Regions from separate parts of the Homo sapiens genome. Here region 2 is linked to region 1. Evidence: promoter capture Hi-C in 16 types of primary human blood cells and fetal thymus (Javierre and others, 2016). All regions are on one chromosome and are shown on one strand. Each heading gives the region's core, a stretch centred on a gene start or on the middle of the fragment in contact. The rest is flanking DNA. Distances are from core to core; before and after follow the strand shown.

Region 1 (4,261 bases), core at 1,059-3,558:
CCCAAAGTGCTGGGATTACAGGCGTGAGCCACCAGGTCCTACCAGGAAGATAGACTTTTTTTTTTTTTTTTTTTGAGACAGAGTCTCGCTCTGCCACCAGCCTGGAGTGCAGTGGTGTGATCTTGGCTCATTTCAACCTCCAACTCCCTGGTTCAAGTGATTCTCCTGCTGCAGCATCCCAAGTAGCTGGGATGACAGGCACACACCGCTACCCCTGGCTAATTTTTGTATCTTTAGTAGAGACAGGGTTTCACCATGTTGGCCAGAATGGTCTCGAACTCCTGACATCGTGATCTGCCCACCTTGGCCTCCCAAAGTGCTGAGATTACAGGCGTCAGCCACCGCGCCAGGTCCAGGTAGGTAGACTTTTGAGGCAGTCTGGAAACCATGGTTCTGGTGCTATCATATTAATAGTTATGTGGCCTAGGGCAAGTTATTCTCTGTGGTTGAGCCTCTCTCCATTGTCCCTTTCAGTTCCAAAATGGATGATTCCACTTAAAAAAACAAAATGTAAACTCACTTTTTTTTTTTTTTGAGGTAGAGTCTTGCTCTGTCGCCCAGGCTGGAGTGCAGTGGTGCAATCTTGGCTTACTGCAACCTCCGCCTCCCAGGTTCAAGTGATTCTCCTGCCTCAGCCTCCCAAGTAGCTGAGACTACAGGCATGCACCACCACGCCCAGCTAATTTTTGTATTTTTAGTAGAGACGGGGTTTCATCATGTTGGCCAGGATGGTCTTGATCTCCTGACCTCGTGATCCGCCCACCTCAGCCTCCCAAAGTGCTACTCACTTTAACTCTAAGCTAGCAAAATAGTCTGGCTAAGCATTACCTGAATCAAAATTTTAAATTTTAAATGCAGAGAGCGGAATAATGCCACATTCAGTAACTTTCTGTTTTGACCACCAGCAACATCTTAAGATGAGACTCCTTATTTAATTGGGAAGAATTCAATCTGCAGGCAGACATCTAAAGTCTTGGGTGACATTCTGTATTTGAAATTGTAATAAGAAAACTGGCCAGGAACGGTAGGCTCACATCTGTAATCCCAGCACTTTTGGAGGCTGAGGCGGGTGGATCACTTGAGGCCAGGAGTTTGAGACCAACCTGGCCCCATCTCTACCAAAAATACCAAAAAAAAAAAAAAAAAAAATTAGCCGGGTGTGGGGGCGCGTGCCTGTATTCCCAGCTATTTGGGAGGCTGTGGCAGGAGGATCACCTGAGCCGGGGAGGTAGAAGTTGCAGTGAGCCGAGACTATGCCACTGCACTCCACCCTGGGCGACAGGGCAAGACCCTGTCTCAAAAAAAAAAAAAAAAAAAAAAAAAAAAAGAAAGAAAATAATCGATAGGATAAACAAATGAGTTTTCCCTCAAACAGGCAACTACAGGCAGCAGCAGCAAATCGGTTGCAGTGAAACAACAGAGAAGCAGAATGGTGATGCAAATGTGTTTTTTTTTCCTGGTCTTGGCTAAGGAAATCGTGCTAGTTTATAAAATTCATATTTGCTCAGTTGCTTATGCTTTTAGCTCTGCAAGATGCGTTCTCCAGAAGCACCTACGGCAAATTAACTCAACACTCGAATTGGGGTGAGCTCCAACGCATAGTCGCTGAGAATCACTGCCTCCAGCACCGCTCTGACCAAGTGAGCCGGGAGCGCGGGGGAAGGGGGTAGGGCACCAGAGTCCCAGTGGGCGCTGCCCCGAGTGGACCACGTGGGCCGGGATTTGGGCAGGACGCGCTCCCGACCGCACGAGGCATGGGGGCCAGGGCTGGCCTCAAGAGAGCACAATCTCGGAGGCCCGAGGTGGCAGGCCTCGCCGTAGCCAGGCGTCCCGCGCTGGGCCCAGGTCGCGACTGACTGCCCCACGCCTTCCGACCGGCTGCCCTGACCCTAGGCCTCCCCCGCTCCCCACTTACCAGCCGTTGACCTCATTTTGGGAGTTCACATCCACCCCGCTCTCCACCAGTTTCTGCACCTCCCGAATGTCCCCTAAGGCCGCGGCCTCCCGCAGCCTCTCCTGCTGCTCCTTCTGCTCTAGGAGGGCGTTCATCTTCCCACAGCCCCAGGCCCCCGCCCAGGCCCGCCTGCCCCGCCCCGCCCGGGGCCTGTCAGCGCCGCCGCCGTCGCCGCGGCCCGCTCCCGGCCATGGGGAGGGAGCGCGGAACTCGCCCGCCCTGCTCGCGCCGCTGCCCGCGCCCGCCCCGGGACTTCCGCTCCCTCCCGCGGGCCGCCCCTGCTGCTCCCGGCCCGCAGGCCCAGGCCTCCTCCCGGGCCGCGCCTCCCGAAGGCCGGCTCCGGGGGACCCTGTTCAGTGTGACAACGCTGACCCAGATATTTTCCGTTCCGACCCGGGGCTCCGGCGCCCGGGCTGGCTGTTTATGTAACTACTGCACAATATTATATGCCATGATTCATTGACTATTTTTAGACTTCCCCACCCCGCAGTTTCAAGGGAGGAGGACAAGACACATGAAAAGAGAAAAAAGCATAGCTGAGGGCCAGAAAAGCCTTATCCTCTGGTGCAGGCTGTTTACCAGGCATCCAAAATAATTGGTGGGTTCTTTTTATTGGGATTTGGGGTTTTTTTGTTATTTTCCCCCAGTTTGGTTGGCTCCTTTTCCTTATCTGAGCCAATTCGTGCCCAGCAGGATGGGGAAATGGGCTGAAAACGATCCTACTATAATACGCCCATTATTACAGAGATAGATTAGACTCTTCTTCTTTTTGACAGTGCTTGGGGACAATTCAGTTAGAATATTTATTTCAATTGTTGTTGTTTTACATCTCATTTTAGACAGGATTTCTTCTAACCTGGCTTTCAGGAAAAATATTTATATTGTGCTCACAGTTTATGAACTGTAATTACTGCTTACAGATTGTAATTAGTTACTCTTCATGAAGGCCATATAAGGAGAAAAGAAAGGAAAAACACCAAAGAGGCTTTGGAGGTGTCCTGGTCCTGATTCCAAGTGCTCTGGGAAGAGCTGTGGTGTACATGTAAACAGCATTTTGCTTCACTTCTTGCCCGATCTATCTAATGAGGCTCAGAGCCTCAGTTGGCACTGTTTTATACCCAGTGGGAGAAAAAGGAAATATTGTTTTGTTGAGCCCAGGTGCCCTGAAGAGATCCTCCGATGTGGCACAGGATGGAACTTTACAGATGGGGTCAAGATTAAGGAAATAGCCCTGGGGAGGAAGGGAGGAAGGCCTGAACAAGGAGAGATGAAATAGGAAGGGATAAATTTAGGCATGGAGTTTTCATTTCCGTCTCTTGGGGCTGCTGGGATCTGCACAGCAAGCATTTTTCTTGCTACAGTTTAAGAAAAACCAATGTCTGTTTGTTTAGTATGATACAGTAATTCACACAGTACACAGTGCACACCAGGTGGTGCTGAATATAAACTGACTACACACTTAAATTGACCCCCATGGCAAATTGTAACCCTGCTTGAGCTTACATTTTCATTTGTTCCCCCAATTTAAATTTTAATTCTCACATCCAGCATGATACTCTATCTGAAACTGATGTGTATGGCACTGGATTTGAGTCCTTCAACACAATTTCAGTGACATGGGAGTAGGTAGTGGCTTGTTGTTTTTGTTTGCTTGTTTTTGAGACAGAGTCTCACTCTGTTGCCCAGGCTGGTGTTCGGTGGGGCGATCTCTGAGCTCCTTGCAACCTCTAAGTCCAGGTTCAGGCAATTCTCCTGCCTCAGCCTCCCGAGCAGCTGGGATTACAGGCCTGTGCCACCATGCTCGGCTAATTTTTGTATTTTTAGTAGACATGGGGTTTCACCATGTTGGCCAGTCTGGTCTCCAGCTCCTGACCTCATGTGATCTGCCAGCCTCAGCCTCCCAAAGTGCTGGAATTACAAGCATGAGCCACCGCGCCTGGCCTGTTTTTGTTTTTTTGTTGTTGTTGTTTTTTGTTTTTAATGCAGTTAAAAAAAATTGTTCGTGACTGCACCCCAAAGTCTATGAGTTCTTTTTTTTTTTTTTTTTTTTTTGAGATGGAGGAGTTTCGCTCTCATTGCCCAGGCTGGAGTGCAACAGCGCGATCTCGGCTCACCACAATCTCCACCTCCCAGGTTCAAGCGATTCTCCTGCCTCAGCCTCCTGAGTAGCTGGGATTACAGGCATGTTCCACCATGCCTGGCTAATTTTTTGTATTTTTAGTAGAGACGGAGTTTCTCCATGTTGCTCAGGCTGGTCTCAAACTCCCGACCTCAGGTGATCCGCCCGCCTCAGCTTCCCAAAGTGCT
Region 2 (4,261 bases), core at 1,150-3,649, 190 kb before region 1:
TAAACAATCTTTATTAAATGAATATGCAATAAATGGCCAGTGGTGAATGCTCTGCTTCCCCCACAGAGATTCTGCACTTTAACCAGTGTCTTGTGAAACCCTGTGCCTTCACCCAGAAGCATGGATCAGTGCCAGCACTGGAGGAGGCTGGCAAAACATCTAGTTCAGTTGTCCCAAACCACTGTGCATCAGAATCACCTAGGGAGTTGAAAAAAGTACAGCTCCCTAGGCCCTGGCTCCATGCAGTAGTCAGGAAGCTGTATTCATAAAACTCCCCCAAAGATTCTGAGGCAGACATTGGACTAATAACTTGGGAACCACTGATTTAGTCCAACTGACTCTTTCTACACATGGAAAGCCTGAGGCCTAGAGAGGTTAAGTGATGCGTACCCAAGACTGTCCAGCTTATAAATAGCATAGCCTGAAATGGAACATCTTTTTTGTATATTAAAAATAATCTTTTTTGTACAGATGGAGTCTCAACTATGTTGCCCAGGCTAGTCTTGAACTCCTGGGCCCAAGCAATCCTCCTGCCTTGGCTTCTCAAAGTGTTGGGATTACAAGCTTGCACCACGGCACCCGGAATGAAACATCTTTTTGTTTTGTTTTGTTTTGTTTTTGAGACAGAGTCTCACTCTGTTGCCCAGGTTAGAGTGCAGTCACACGATCTCAGCTCACTGCAACCTCTACCTCCCGGGCTCAAGTGATTCTCCTGCCTCAGCCGCCCGAGTAGCTGGGACTGCAGGCATGGGCCACCACACCTGGCTAATTTTTGTATTTTTAGTAGGGACGGGGTTTCACCATGTTGGCCAGGTTGGTCTTGAACTCCTGGCCTCAAGTGATCCTCCTGTGTCAGCCTCCTAAAGTGCTGGGATTACAGGCATGAGCCACCACACCTGGCCTGAAACGAAACATCTTCTGATCTCAATTCTGGCTACAGAAGTCTTAGTCACTGTGGTGAGCCAGGGGCTGTGGGTAGGGGGACCCTCCAGAGAGAACTCCCATTGCCCCAGCAAAGTGCTACCCAGGCCACCTTGGCAGCCTCTGCTATCTATCCAGCTGGTCAGCTCTGCCCCCCACCATGGAGTCTAGTATATATTTTTACTTTTATTTTTGTATGTATATATTGATATATACAGAAGGAGCTCTTTAAGGACTTAATAACTTTCTGCTTCTCTTCAGAAAAGAAGCGGGCAAAGGGACCTGAACAACCCACACCCACAATTCAGGAAGAGCCTGAACCTGTTAGCAATGTCCTACAAGGAGATGACATTCTTGCCTTGGCCATTAAGAAGGAAGACTTGAAGGAGGTGAGGATGAAGCCCAAGCTTCCCTTACCATAGAAACGTTTCCCTGCCGGCAGCCTGAGTGGTCTAGAACACCAGCCATGTCCCTACTCATGGGGAGTGTCTAACTCCATGGAAAAACCCACTGAACACAGATTCTTTTCACTTTACCACCTTAAGGAATTCACTGTGTTGTCTGTTTTAACATTTCTGAGATTCATATAGAACCACAGGGGAAATGAGATGATGAGGTATCTTGCTTCCCATAGAGGTAGGTGCCATCATTCCCATTTCACAGACCGGAGGATGAGTTTAAGGAGCCAAGGTACAGCTCTGGGTAAAGCTGCTAAACCCTAACCCCATGCTTTACCTGGGAGAGTCAGCCATCTCTCACCCAAACTGTCTGGAGGCATAAGATGTTCTTTTTTTTCCCTCCAGGATATTACTAAGTCACATATCTGTTACACAGGCATTTCCTTGACAGAACATATGGACAGAGCTGAAGAAACAGATCTGTCAGCCTTCAGGAACTCCACCCAGAACTAGAACAGAAGAGATGGGTGGTGCTCTTCCTCCTGCCACCACAGGTGGAATTCTCCTTTGTTTTATTTCTTTTTAGCAACACATTCCTCGCCTTACTGAAAAGGAAGATAAACGTGTCATCACCCAGAAATTTATCATCCGTAAACTCAAACCCATGGATCCTAGGAGGAAGGTCTGCCACCTTGTAGCACGTCCTGCGAATCCTGATGAAGCCACAAAGCCTCTGGACTACTCCGGTACACCCAGTCTCAGCCCTGGCTTCACTGTCTTTCAACTCATGGGTCAGCCTCAAGAGAAACCCAGTCTCCATCAGAAAGTTGCCCTCTTGAAAGTTGTCCACCCACAGCTTCTTTCCCCTTTCTTCTTTTATCCTCCCAGGTCCCGGTGACAGCTTCGATGGCAGTGACCAGATCCTGCCCCACCACATCTTGGGGAGTCTCCAGGATTTTAAGAGAATTGCACTTGCTCGAGGGAACACCCAGGTTTGTTTGCACAGAACTACCCGGATGAGAGCAGTCACTGAAGTCATTTTGGTCTCCCACCTGACACAGTCAAGCAGGGCTGGGGTTAAAGAGACAGTCTAGTCTGTAGGTTTTGAGTCTGAGTTGATAAGGGACCCTCTCCCAGAATAGTTGGACACTTCAGGCAGCTGAAGCTGGCTTCAGTGAAGTCAGGGATTTACTGTAAGGATTCCAGAGATTGCCTCATGGAACCCAAAGGCGGGAGTACCTGGGTCTGGGTAGACTGCACCCAAAAAGGCATCAGGACTCAGGGCCCACATGCCTCATTTCCCTCTGCTCTGTGCACTGTCTTGATTTTCCCTTCTCTGGAGACTGGCCTGCCCTCCTCAGTCCACGTGGTGGAGGAAGGTGGCTTCCCACTGCTTCCTGGGCCACGGGAAGATTCTGTATCTTTCCAGCCTTCCCATCATGCAGTGCTTCACCTGTCTCTTCCCCTTGCTTCCCTGGTTCCAGGCTGACTCTGATTGGTCAGGCGCTAAGGGGCCTGGGGCCCTGTAAGAATGCTTCCATTTACACATGGGTGAAGGTGGCAATCAACATCAGTTGTGAGGACAAATACACTAGATGTTGACCCCAATCTTGAAACAGAAGTTCCCTTTGTGGGGGAGAGTGGACTGACAGCTGCTTTCAGGGCCCCCTGGTTCTGGGATTTATTTTCTGTCACTGGCTACTCTGGAGTCCTGAAGAGGAGGGACTCTCAGCGCAGTGGGATAACAGCACGGGTTTAGGCCTCGGGAAATGTGTGCTCAGCCCTGCCCAGAGCCTTCTTACTGCCCTCCACATACCTATGTTGTACTTTTCAGCTGGCTGAGCGGATACCTACCTCACCCTGTCTGATGACCCTCATCTCTGCTGAAGGAGAGTCAAAGCAAAAAGCCCCAAAAGAAGAGAAGAGACCTCCCTGGGCCCCACCTCCTCAGCACAACTTTCTGAAAAACTGGCAGCGTAACACAGCCCTGCGGAAGAAGCAGCAGGAAGCCCTCAGCGGTGAGCAGAGCAGACAGGGCTCCCGCCCGGCCTCCATCTGGCAGCAAGGCTCTGCTGGGTTGTTTGCTCTCCTCCAGAGCCTGGCCTTGGGCTGACCACATTTGTGCTTTCACTCCCAAGAGTGTCTCACTCTGAAGCTTCAGTGGATCCTGAAATCAGCCCTGTGAGGGAGGCTGCCCGATGCAGACTGCCAAGGCCCCTGTTTGTTCTGGTTCGGCAGAGTGGCGGCAATCTTGCCTCTCTCTCTAGAACACCTAAAGAAGCCAGTGAGTGAGCTGCTCATGCACACCGGGGAGACCTACAGACGGATCCAGGAGGAGCGGGAGCTCATTGACTGCACACTTCCAACCCGGCGTGATAGGAAAGTGAGGCCACCTGTCCTAAGTGCCCGGGGGCAGGGGGGTCCATGGAGGAGGGGGCGGGGGCAGGTGTCTGGACACAGGGATGCTGGTCTCAGGTGGCACAGCTGGGGAGAAAAAACCTATCCATTGCAAAACATCATTAGGCCCTCAAGGCCTTTACTAAATTATATGATTAGTCAGTAAAGTTATTCAGCCTGTGGTGACCACACAGGTAGCAAGTTATTAGAGTAGTCTTAGTGTTTGTCTCCTAGGAGCTTAGACTGAGTGGAGCCTACACCCTAAAGAGAGAGGTTGAAGAGTCCCCCACCTTTTTTTCTGGTAGACCAGTGCAGTACCTGTACCAACCCACACCATCTGGCTGGGGGCAGGTAAAGATGACAACAGGGTGTCCAGAAAACACGGCAGTGGATGCTTCTGTTATGCAATCACGGCAGCAATGAATTCCCCAGAGGAAGCATCTGTAGCCTGTGGTGGTGCTCTTGTCTTCCCACATCTCCACCAGCATCTGGCTGAGGTGTCCTGGTAATCTGACTCACCTTTCCTTCCTTGCCAGAGCTGGGAG

The links. Contacts are between HindIII fragments. The CHiCAGO score rates a contact against its expected background, and 5 or more counts as called.
Region 2: a contact is called between a fragment that was not itself captured here and the fragment with the promoter of ANKRD40 in region 1, in 2 of 17 cell types (M0 macrophages and megakaryocytes). The highest score is 6.6, in M0 macrophages.

Annotation. Positions count from the first base shown.
Region 1 is chr17:50,705,606-50,709,866 of GRCh38, forward strand. It overlaps ANKRD40 (ankyrin repeat domain 40), which reads right to left and starts at 2,309. Exons shown (of 5, transcript NM_052855.4): 1 at 1,916-2,309. The coding sequence starts at 2,049. RefSeq lists silencers at 1,645-1,914, 2,045-2,254. The HindIII fragment of the contact is 9,335 bases long and covers 1-4,261 here.
Region 2 is chr17:50,515,388-50,519,648 of GRCh38, forward strand. MYCBPAP (MYCBP associated protein) reads left to right here. Exons shown (of 19, transcript NM_032133.6): 2 at 1,183-1,310; 3 at 1,906-2,065; 4 at 2,208-2,311; 5 at 3,154-3,337; 6 at 3,587-3,702; 7 at 4,253-4,261. Among named protein-coding and RNA genes, the nearest start is that of MYCBPAP, 9.1 kb to the left of the region's middle. The HindIII fragment of the contact is 2,146 bases long and covers 1,327-3,472 here.